2 separate regions of the Homo sapiens genome follow, and region 2 is linked to region 1. Evidence: promoter capture Hi-C in 16 types of primary human blood cells and fetal thymus (Javierre and others, 2016). All regions are on one chromosome and are shown on one strand. The core of a region is centred on a gene start or on the middle of the fragment in contact, and the rest is flanking DNA. Distances in the headings are between cores, read along the strand shown. Region 1 holds the start of RWDD2B (RWD domain containing 2B). Region 2 holds the start of BTG3 (BTG anti-proliferation factor 3).

Region 1 (5,738 bases), core at 1,156-3,655:
CTATTATTATTAATTAAAAAAACCTTTTTTTTTGAGACAGGGTCTAGCTCTGTCACCCAGGCCAGAGTGCAGAGTCGGCTCACTACAACCTCTGCTTTCTGGGTTTTTTAGTAGAGACGGGGTTTCACCACGTTGGCCAGGCTGGTCTCGAACTCCTGCCGTCATGATCCACCCGCCCTGGGCTCCCAAAGTGCTGGGATTACAGGCATGAGCCACCGTGTCCGGCTGCTTATTACTATTATTATTATTGGTCATCATTTCAACAAATGTTTCTCAAGCACTTACGTTCAAGCACTGGCACTAAGATAACAATGAATGAAAGTAATAAAACAACTCTACTGGTGGGAGGATACCATGACATCAAAAACAAATTTATACGCCCAGCCCAGGTGCGGTGGTGGCTCACGCCTGTAATCCCAGCACTTTGGGAGGATGAGGTGGGCGGATCACCTAAGGTCAGGAGTTTGAGACCAGCCTGGCCAACATGATGAAACCCCATCTCTACTAAAAATACAAAAATTAGCCAGGTGTGGTCGCCCACGCCTGTAGTCCCAGCTACTAGGGAGGCTGAGGCAGGAGAATCGCTTGAACTGGGGAGGCGGAGGTTGCAGTGAGCTAAGATCATACCTCTGCACTCCAGCCAGAGCAACAGAGCAAGACTGTCTCAAAAAAAAACAAAAAAGAATTTTTGTACCCAGTGAATAACTGCTATGAAGAAACCTGAAAAAGAAAACAAGGATAAGGGAAACAATGAGGCAGCAGGGGTGAGACTGCACACAGCATTGTCAGGAAAGGCCTTTCTCCTAAGGTGACTGTAGGGAAGAGACTTTAAGGAACTGAAAAAGGAGGCCATGTGTTTTTCTTGGCCAAGAGTGTTCAAGGGAAAGCGAACAGCATATTCAAAGGCCTTGAGGAAGGAGGGTGCTAGAACAGCTGGCCAGAGCACAGTGAGCTGAGGACACGGGGAATAGAAGAGTTTAGTAAGGAAATGTGGGGCAGTTTATGTTGGGACTAGTAAAGCATGGCCAGAATTTTGAATTTTATCCCGACTGACATGTAAGAGCTACAAGAGAGGTTTGACTTATGAAGATCCCCACACTTGCTGCTATGGAGAAAAGTGAAAGGAAAAGTGGGGTGACCAGATATAGACACCGCAATAACTAGGGAGAGATGATGGTGGCTTTGATAGGATTATAGTGGTCAAGTTGGTGAGCTTCAGGTTCTGGATACATGCAGAGAACAGAGGCAACAGGATTTACAGATGAATTACATGAGACACGGAAGAATGACTCCGGGGCTTTAAGGTACTGAAAGTATGGATCTGCCATTTATTTAGACGTTGATGGTCATGGGGAGCTGAAGCTTGGTTTTAGACACAAGTAATGAAGTGCCTACTAAGACACCTGTTAAATAGAGAGGTCTAGCAGGCAGTTAGATGTATAGTTTTGAAGTCTACGAGAGACTCAGCTAGATATATAATCTTGGGAGTCAACACTTATTTGGAACTATATATTTGTTTAAAGTCTCCCAGGGAGTGAGTAAAGTTGGGAGAGGGTGCTATTGAATTGGAGGTATCGAAGATGAAATGGGATTAGCAAAGAAGAACGGGACGGAGGGACTCTTGAACGGACAACTACGGGAGTGATGTCACAGGTCATTTATCTGCCAAATTATTTTCGCTTAAGAGATTTCAGTCCTTCCAAAAAACCCTCAAGATAATTTTATGATTCAAGATTTCAGCGAATGCTGTAAGATAATAGACTGTGGCCGGGCGCGATTGCTCACGCCTGTAATCCCAGCACTTTGGGAGGCAGAGGAAGGGGGACTGCTTGAGCCCAGGAGTTCAAGATCAGCCTGGGTAACATAGTAAGAGCTCGCCTTTATTATTTTTTTAAAAAATAAAATATATTTAAGAGAACGCAGACTGAAACTTGAGATTTCTGAGTGGAATAATATCTTTTCCTTGCAGATTTTTTTTTGAAGAACAGAGCAGGGTACCCCGCGACCCAAGCCAAGACGCTCTCAGGAAGAAAGCCCAGCACGCAGCCGCCCTCGCACCCTGATTGCCCCCGGGGCGAGGTCCCCGGCTGGAGCAGGGCTGCAGAAGCCGGGAAGCAACGCCGAGGACCGAGCCGACCGATGGGCGCATGCAGTGAGGGGAACCGGGGCCGCCATGCCGGGCACGTTCCCAAAGGGTTGCACTGGGCGCTGCAGCGTGGGAAACCCCCGTGGCGGTCACCACTGGCGCTAGCTGAGGCGAGACTCACCTTGAGCCGTGGCCCCCTCACTGCTGTAACCCGGGTTCCATGGCTGCATGGACAGCTCAATTTTCATCAGAAGGGAGCCTCAAAATTCTAGCATACTGCGACCCAAAACTTACAAACCGCCTCAGCTGGCGACCTACCGGAAAAAAAAAAAAAAAGCATGCGGCGCATGCGCGTCCAAGGCCGCGGACCGGAAGCTGGGGCTCGCCTGTTGGGAGCCGCGTCCGCCGGTGTTGGTGTCTGCACTTGGAAGGACGTAGGGAATGCGTTGTCCCTGCTAGGTACTTTTCAGTCGCAGAGTTCTCTTCTTCTTCTTTCTTTCTTCCTTTTTTTTTTTTTTGAGACGGAGTCTCGCTGTGTCTCTCAAGCTGGAGTGCAGTGGCGCGATCTCGGCTCACTGCAGCCTCCGCCTCCTGGGTTCAAGCGATTCTCCTGCCTCAGCCTCCCGAGTAGCTGGGATTACAGGCGCCCACCACCATGCCCAGATAATTTTTGTATTTTTCAGTAGAAATGGGGTTTCACCATGTTGGCCAGGCTGGTCTCGAACTCCTGACCTCAGGTGATCCACCGGCCTCGGCCTCCCACAGTGCTGGGATTACAGGCCTGAGCCACCGTGCCCGGCCGGAGTTTTTCTACTTAATACCTCTCCATGCCAACCCCGTTGTCATTTCCCAGCGGCCGCCTCTATAACGGGCACTTTTCAGGGACAAAGAATTGGTCCGTTAATGTTCCTCAAATTCGAACGCGCCTAGGAATAGTTCGGGGATCCTGTTGAAGTGCAGATCAGGATTCCGTAGGTAGGGGTGGGGTTCCAAATTCTACATTTCTAGTATCTTCCCACACGATGGTGATCCTCCTTGTCCCTGAATCATGGAGGAGGGCAATTAGGGAGATGTGAGCCTGGATGCATGGTGGCCTTGGCTATCTTAGGTGTTCTTGCCCATTAACCAAGCTGGGAGGAACCGTGTGAATGCATATCTATCCCTGTTAATAAAAGGGTAGTTTGAAGGAGATGCTGACAGGAGAATAATTAGAAATGTTTTTCTTCCCAATCCAACTATATGCAATACACTTTATAATATTCATTTTAGAAATGTCATAGATAAGATTTGTAAACATTGACATTTAGCAATACTAAATATCACTGCTAGGTCTCCCCTCCACTTTTTTTTTTTAAACAAAAATACGACAGTATGTATTGTAGGTCTTCATAAACTACGTCTTCTGCATAGTGTTTCATGAGCGTTTTTCAATGTCATAATTTATTTTTTCCTCCAACATTTATTATGAAAAAATTCAAGTGTAAAGCGAAGTCGAGAGAATTTTACAGTGGAGCAGACCTCAAGAGAAGGGGAAGGATGGATTTCCCCTCTATTTAGCAGTGTCTGAAGACATTTTGGGTTGTCACAACTGGAAGGATGGTATTGGCATGGGGTAGGTAGAGCACAGGGATGTTCCTCAACTTCCTACAATGAACAGGACATCCCCCGACAACAACAAATTTGCTGGTCCAAAATGTTGATAGTGTTGAGGTTGAAAAACACTGACCTGGAGAGTACAGAATTTTACTCTACCAGCTTTGTCACATACCTCATCAATCTATCTGTTTTCATACATTTAAAAGTAAACTGCAGACAGTACGCTTCTAAGTACCTCTAATGCACATCATTGGAGTTCAAATTAAGGATTTTTTAAGGTAAAAATGAAATGCATACCTTAAATACACATCAGTTTTTAAATGCACACGCCTATGGAACTCAAGCCATATTAACATATAGAACGTTACCATCACCCTAGAAAGTTCTTTCATGCCCTTTCTTAGTTCCCAACCAGTTCTCCCCAAAGGTAACCACTGTTCTGATTTTTTCCCCCACCATACTTATTTTTCTTGTTATAGAACGTCATATGGTTGGAGTCATGCAATAGATATTTTTGTGTAAGGGTTCTTTCACTCAGGGTAATATTTTCATCTGATATCATGTGTATCACTTTCTTTTGATTGCTCAGTAGTATTCCATCATATGAATATACCAGTTCCATTCTTGTTTTGATAGAAACCTGGGCTGTCTTCAGTTTTTTGGCTATTATAAATAAAGCTGCTGTGAACGTTCTTATATAGCATTTTATTGCTCATGACTTTCTTTTCAATAAATATTTATCGAGCACTTACTATATTCCAGGCATTTCCAGGTACTAATTATAGCCATGAACAAGACAAAGATGTCGCATCTCTCAAAGAGCTTATATTTGCACATTTCTGTGTATGTATGAAGAGGGCTAAACATAAAGGTAAAAATAAAAGAAAATTATGGGCCGGGCACAGTGGCTCATGCCTGTAATCCCAGCACTTTGGGAGGCCAAGGCGGGCAGATTACCTGAGGTTGGGAATTCAAAACCAGCCTGACCAACATGAAGAAACCCCGTCTCTACTAAAAATACAAAAATTAGCTGGACATGGTGGTGCATGCCTGTAATCCTAGCTACTGGGGAGGCTGAGGCAGGAGAATTGCTTGAACCTGGGAGGCGGAGGTTGTGGTGAGCCGAGATCACGCCATTGCACTCCAGTCTGGGCAACAAGAGCAAAACTGCGTCTCAAAAAAAAGAAAAAAAAAAAAAATTATGGCTGGGTATGATAGCTCATGCCTATAATCCCAGCACTTTGGGAGACCAAGGAGGATCACTTGAGCCCAGGGTTTGAGACCAGCTTGGGCAACAGAGACCCCTAACTCTACAAAAAACACAAAAATTAGCCAGGTGTGGGGGCGTGTGCCTGTAGGCCTGTAGTCCCAGCTACTCAGGAGGCTGAGGTAGGAGAATTGCCTGAGCCTGGGAAGTTGAGGCTGCAGTGAGCTGTAACTGCACCACTGCACTCCAGCCTGGGCAACAGAGTGAGACTCTGTCTCAAAAAAAAAAAAAAAAGAAAGAAAATTACCAGATAGTGGATAAACTGCTGGGCAGAGAAGTAAAGTAAGGTGATGTGAGTGATCAGATGACTGTGTTACTTAGATTGCCCTGTAACTGGAAGGAAGTGACTTTTAAGGCATGTATAGAAGCTGGGTGTGGTGACTCACACCTGGAATCCTAGTGCTTTGGGAGGCTGAGGCTGGAGTATCGCTTGAGGTCAGGAGTTTGAGACCAGCCTGGGCAGCAGGCTTTTGTAGAGACACGGTGACTTCAAAAAAAAAAAAAAAAAGTTAGCTGATGAGGTGGCACACACTTGCAGTACCAGCTACGCGAGGCTGAGGCATGAGGATCACTTGAGCACAGGAATTCAAGGTTACAGTGAACTATGACTGCACTTCAGCCTGGGCTACAAAGCCAGACCCTGTCTCTAAAATAAATAAATTAAAAATAAGGTGTGAACAGAATGACAATAAGATACCAACCCCGGAAGATCAGGGGGAAGAGGCTTTCTGACAGGAAGCACGTGGTACAATGACCCTAAGGCTCTGTTTTAAAATGCGTGGGGGCAAA
Region 2 (5,738 bases), core at 877-3,376, about 11 Mb before region 1:
CCTAGCAGTAGTTTGTGTTCCCACATTTCCAAAAAAATAAAGCTGATTGTTAGCTTTCTTTTCTCAAACTGCTCTTTCAGTCTCTCTTCAGAATATGACTCCTTTATTCCAAGTGCAAATTCAAACAAGGAACCTCACTGTGAAATAAATTCTACACAGTTATCTGAGAGGTGTGCTGGCAGCCGCAGATAGCCTGATGGAGGGGAAGGCACACAAATCTTCCTCCCAGAACCCTAGAATGAGAAATTCACCTTCTACAGCCAGCTAGCAGGCACCGGGCATGGGTCCACACACGAGTGTACACGTATACATAACCCCAGCCCACCACGACTGCTGTGCAGCCTCCTCCTGAAAAATGTAAGCCATTTCCACTTTGTAAAGCTACGTTTATATTCCACCACGATACGATGGAAAAGAAAACCCAAGGCAATTTAATATACGGGTTGGGAAGAAAGTTTTGCTGATGGAACTACATTAGCCTCCACTCCAGCAAAGCAAACAAGGAACCACACTAAAGAAATGTACTGAATCTTTTAACTAGATCTTTCTCCTCATTCATTACATTTGCCAACTATGTGCCACATATCTGAGTTCTGGATTTGTTTCTGTTTGCTCTGCTTCATATAAAAAAATAGAAAAGAAGGAAAGAACCACTTAGTGGTTGCTTTTGGTTGTAACACAAGATGACTCATTTGGACTTTTGTTTTCCCCGTTTGAAGAAATGATAGCTCGAACAGCTGAAAAATAAGCCCACTCCCACCAGTATTCTAGGAGTACCAAAAGGTGAAAGAGGGAGAGTTACAGTCAGGGCAAGAACCACCAGAGGCAAGCAGGGCCAAGAAGACCTCAGGCGTCTTGAGTAAGTAGGCGTCCTCCACCCACACTCAGAGCAAAAGGCTCCCATTTTAAATATCGCACGGTGACGTCATCCTGGGACCTCGTCACCGCGGCGGCTGCTCCTCAAGTTCTACTTTGTTCCACAAGGCTCCTCTGCTCACGGCTGCGTGGATAAAACCCAAAGGGAATCCAGAATCAAGCTCGGCCTCGCAGGAGTTTATAACTTTTGTACTTTTCCCTCCCTTGTAACGAAAAGCTAATCGCAAACGTTTCTAGGAACACATTTTTCTCCTGATAGACGTTCCCAAGGTGGAGGGCGCGAGAAGACTGGCCCGTGGGGTGAGGAGCCCCGGCCCGACCTCAGCGGCGCCACAAAGCCATGAAGAGGGGAAATAATTTTCCAAGGGGCTAAGAGTTGGACTTTCTGAAGCCATCGAAACCTGCTGCTAGGCTCTCCCGCTGGGGTTTTGAGAGAGGTAGGTGAGGAGGGATCAAACATCTCCACCCGCTCTTGAAAGAACCGCCTTGAGCTGCGCCCAACTTCTGCAATCCCGGTTTTCCCCAAGTTCAAGGGGAAGGGCCCTGGCGCCCAATGCCCAGCCTCCCCGACAACATCCTCGCCAGGGTGCGCCTGCCCCGCGGGTCCGCTGTCCCCGGCGGGCGGCCCTGGGTTCGAGGACCCGGCTTCCCGGAGGCGCGACTCTCCAGCAAACAAGCGGAGCTCCAGAAAAAACACCGACGCGAAGGGGGTGGACAGAGGGTGGGAAGCCGCGGGGTTGTCGCCCACCCGGAGGCGGAATGTAACGCGCTGTGGGAAACGTGGCAGGAGCCCTGAGGCGGCGTCTTTTTCCTCAGGCGCCCGCCGAGGGTCCCGCGGAAAGCCTCGCGGGCCGCCCTCGCGGCCCGCAGCCCCGCTCTGGCGCCGAGCCGGAGCCCATGCAACCTGGTTCCATCCCCTGCCCCTCCCCTGTCCCCGGTGCGCCGCCCGCCAGCGAGCCTTCGACGTGGCCGCAGGGGCGACGGGACCACCCTCCCCCGATACCCACAGCCCCGCCATGTCTGCCTTTCCCCGGCCCGGTCTCCTCACCGCCGCTGCCGCCGCCGCTCTTCGGCCGGAGATTCGGCGGCCCAGACCGTGTCCTGGCCGGGAACTGAGGGCTCCGCCTCAACGGGCCCGCGCTGGGCAACAGGGAGCGCAGCGAGCCTCGTCCGGCGCGTGCGGCTCCCGCGTCGTCGGGCGGCCAAGCGCGCGTTGAGAGGACTGGCGGGCGGACGAGCGCGCACACGAGTGAGCGCAGCCCCAAAGCGGCGCGCAGGGGGCTCGCGGCCCGGAAGAGGGGAGGGGCGATGACCCGGGAAAGGGTTGGCGCGCGCGGGATCGGCTCGCGCGCCTGAGGGGCGGTGCCGGGGGCGGGGCTTCGCCGCGAGGCCACCCCCGAGCCCCGGGCCTAGCCGCACGGGAGGCGACACACCCTCGCCCTACCCTGAGCCTGGCGCAGACCCTCGACCGCGACGGCGCGGTCCGCAGAACCGCGGGCTTCCCTCCCCGGCAAAAAGCGGCGCTGAAGGCCTGTGGGACCCCCGCCCGGCCGCCCTACGTGCGTCAGCGCCTTCGGGGGTCGCGCGGGCTTGGTCCTTTCGGCTGTCTCGGCCTTTTTGTTTCCCCCTCAGGTCTCTCCACGCTGCACTTGACACCCTCAGGGCGGAATGGCGAGTTCTAGACCCAGCTCTCTAGACCCGGGGCTTCATGGGGGACACGGACTCGACGGGAAGGGGAACTTGGCATTTATGGACAGATCCTCATCCTTCTTGCTGTAGTCAATTACACGCACGTTAACCGTGCAGCCGCCCTGCTGTATTTTAGGCGGTTGTTGGCACTCCTAGTTGGGCCCTTCCCTGGCCCCTCACAGCAGGGCCTGCCTCCTGTGGACGCTTGTGTGCTGCCCTGGCACCGGCCACTGTGTTTTGCATAAAGGAGAGGCTCCAAAGATGTTGGCCAAAGGAATGAAGCCTTGAGAGTCCAGGCTTTCTATTTCTGAGACACTCTACTCAAGGACTTCCCAGATGCAAAGCTTCATCTTTGAGCAAATACAAATATGGAGAGGGAACATTAACTTTCTGAAGAAAAGAAGGAACATCTTTTCAACCTTTTATATTGAGTTAACACCATGGTCTTAGTTTTGTGAAAGCACTTTAATACATCCAACTAGCGGGAGGAATACAAGATATTCCTACCTTTTTATTATTATTATTAAAAGAGGGCTAAACCATGTTGTAAACTACTTAAGAACTGAATGTTCAAGTTGTACAGTATATTGGCCAGATTCCTTACTGCCCACTAGGCTTGGGAGCATGTTTTCAGCTCAGTTTTATGAATGTTTTAAATTTGTATTACTGATCTTTGTTATAGCCAATTAGCAATTCAAAATGGTAATTTTTTTAGCAGTAATAAATATACCATCCCCCAAACAGTACAATAAACTTTATTTGTAAAAAAAAAAAATTATACTCTTCTAGGACTTAGTCTACTTACTGGTACATTTAAAGAGGATATTTACACCTTGGAGTCTTCTAGGAGGTGTGAAGGTGTTTTTATTTTAAAATCATAACAATCTGATGAGGTTATTTTTACAGATAAAGGCCTTTAATTCTGCAGTTTCATAAAATAGCTAGGTAACCACCCACATTACTCAAAATTTGTCCAGAAATTTCTATAGTTTAGGATTAGTATTTTGTGTAGTATTTATAAATCTGTGGTCCACATTTTCCAGTCTTAGAGCAGTACCATATTCAAAAAATACAGGCAAGAACCTGAAACCCAATTTCAAAATGACTTTTAAAAAATTCTCAGGCTGGGCACTGTAGCTCATGCCTGTAATCCAGTACTTTGGGAGGTCAAGGAGAGAGGATCATTTGACTCCAGGAGTTCAAGACCAACCTGGCCAACATCATGAAACCCAATCTCTACAAAAAATACACAAATTAGCCAGGTGTGGTTGCATGCAGCTGTAGTCTCAGATACTCTGAAGGCTGGGGTGAGAGGATCACCTGAGCCCAGGAAATTGAGGCTGCAGTGAGCTATGATAACATCATGGCACTCCAGCCTGGGTGACAGAGCAAGACTCTGTCTAAAAAAAGAAAAAAAAATTCTCATAGCTGAACACTGTGAAATAGACACATAGCAAACAATGTCTCTTAAACACTTTTTCTCTCATCCACTTCCCTTGCACACACAGTATTTGTTTTTATGTCTCTTTCAAAACTTGCCCTACTCTTGTGTGCTTCAGATGCTTTGCCCCAGCTCTCTTTCCTTGTGAGTTGGAATCACAAAATCACAAATGAATTGGTATGGCAAGGCAGAGCCCTCCTCTTTATGGGACTGAAAGAGGAGAGCTGCTATAAACTAAATGTTTGTGTCCCTCGCAATATTCGTATGTTGGAGACTAAATCCCCAATGTGATGGTATTTGGAGGTGGGGCCTTTGGGAGACACTTAGGTCATGAGGGTGGAACCTTCATGAATGGAATTAGTGCCCTTGTAAGTGGAAACATGAGAGAGATGATCACTCTGTCTGCTCTCTTGCCAAGTGAGGATATAGGGAGAAGACAGCAAACCAGAAAGCATACCTTCACCAGACACTGGATCTGCTGGTACCTTGATCTTTAACTTCCCTACCTCCAAACTGTGAGAAATTTCTGTTGTTTAAGCCACACAGTCTATAGTATTCTGTTATAGCATCCTGGAATAAGACAGGAGCAGAGCTGATGTAAATAATTACAGTAGTTCCCCCTTATCCACGGTAGGATATGTTCCAGGATCCCCAGTGGATGTCTGAAACTGCACATGGTACCAAACCCTATGTATAATTTATAAATTAGGAACAGTAAGAGATTAACAATAATTATAATAACAGAACAATTATTATAGTACACTGTAATAAAAGTTATGTGAATGTATGCTCGCTCTCTCTCAAAATATCTTATTGTACTGTACCACTGGTAACTAAAACTGGTGAAAATGAAACCAGGGATAAGAGGGAACTACTATACTCATTAATATGTATTTCCATTTCACAGCTAACTTTAAGATATTCACTTCTATTGTGTGTTAATGGTGTAGTTTGCTTTTAGCACAAGTGGTTTCTTATGAAAATGAGCCACTCTAATATGTCTAGGGCTTTATAATCACAGGAATCATCACACACATCCTGTGGTTGTGTCTCAGAGTTGCAGAGAATGCAACTTAGAATCAACAAAATCTGTGAAATAGCTTTCAAAATTAGGACTTATTTTCACTAAATATGTGAGTCTTTAAAATCCTTTGAACTCAAGAGTTCAGCATTAAAAGCAAAACAGTCGGCGGGTCGTGGTGGCTCACGCCTGTAATCCCAGAACTTTGGGAGGCTGAGGCAGGTGGATCACCTGAGGTCAGGAGTTTGAGACCAGCCTGGCCAACATGGTGAAACCCCATCTCTACTAAAAATACAAAAATTAGCCAGGTGTGGTGGCATGCTCCTGTAATCCCAGCTGCTCAGGAGGCTGAGGCAGGAGAATGGCTTGAACCTGGGAGGTGGAGGTTGCAGTGAACTGAGATCATCGTGCTCTGCACTCCAGCCTGAGCAACAGAGCAAGACACTATCTAAAAAAGAAAAGAAGGAAAAAAAAACAGTCTTGGGTACCATCTTCTCAATTCACTTGTCAAGTTTGAATCTGAATACAAAAGTCTTTTTTTTTTTTTTTTTTGAGACAGAGTCTTTCTCTGTTGCCCAGGCTGGAGTGCAGTGGTGCAATCTCGGCTCACTGCAAGCTCCGCCTGCCAGGTTCACGCCATTCTCCTGCCTCAGCCTCCTGAGTAGCTGGGACTACAGGTGCCCACCACCATGCACGGCTAATTTTTTGTGT

What was found. Contacts are between HindIII fragments. The CHiCAGO score rates a contact against its expected background, and 5 or more counts as called.
Region 2: the fragment with the promoter of BTG3 here is called in contact with the fragment with the promoter of RWDD2B in region 1 in 1 of 17 cell types (fetal thymus); the score reaches 6.0 in fetal thymus.

What each region holds. Positions count from the first base shown.
Region 1 is chr21:29,016,944-29,022,681 of GRCh38, forward strand. RWDD2B (RWD domain containing 2B) reads right to left here and starts at 2,406. Exons shown (of 5, transcript NM_016940.3): 1 at 2,268-2,406. The coding sequence starts at 2,334. It overlaps LOC124905005 (a long non-coding RNA gene), which reads left to right and starts at 643. Exons shown (of 2, transcript XR_007067836.1): 1 at 643-1,304; 2 at 1,970-4,385. RefSeq lists an enhancer at 2,247-2,496. The HindIII fragment of the contact is 4,408 bases long and covers 1,361-5,738 here.
Region 2 is chr21:17,610,775-17,616,512 of GRCh38, forward strand. BTG3 (BTG anti-proliferation factor 3) reads right to left here and starts at 2,127. Exons shown (of 5, transcript NM_006806.5): 1 at 1,925-2,127. It overlaps BTG3-AS1 (BTG3 antisense RNA 1), which reads left to right and starts at 912. Exons shown (of 1, transcript NR_149073.1): 1 at 912-3,340. It also overlaps a transcript of CXADR not described here. The HindIII fragment of the contact is 7,083 bases long and covers 1-2,907 here.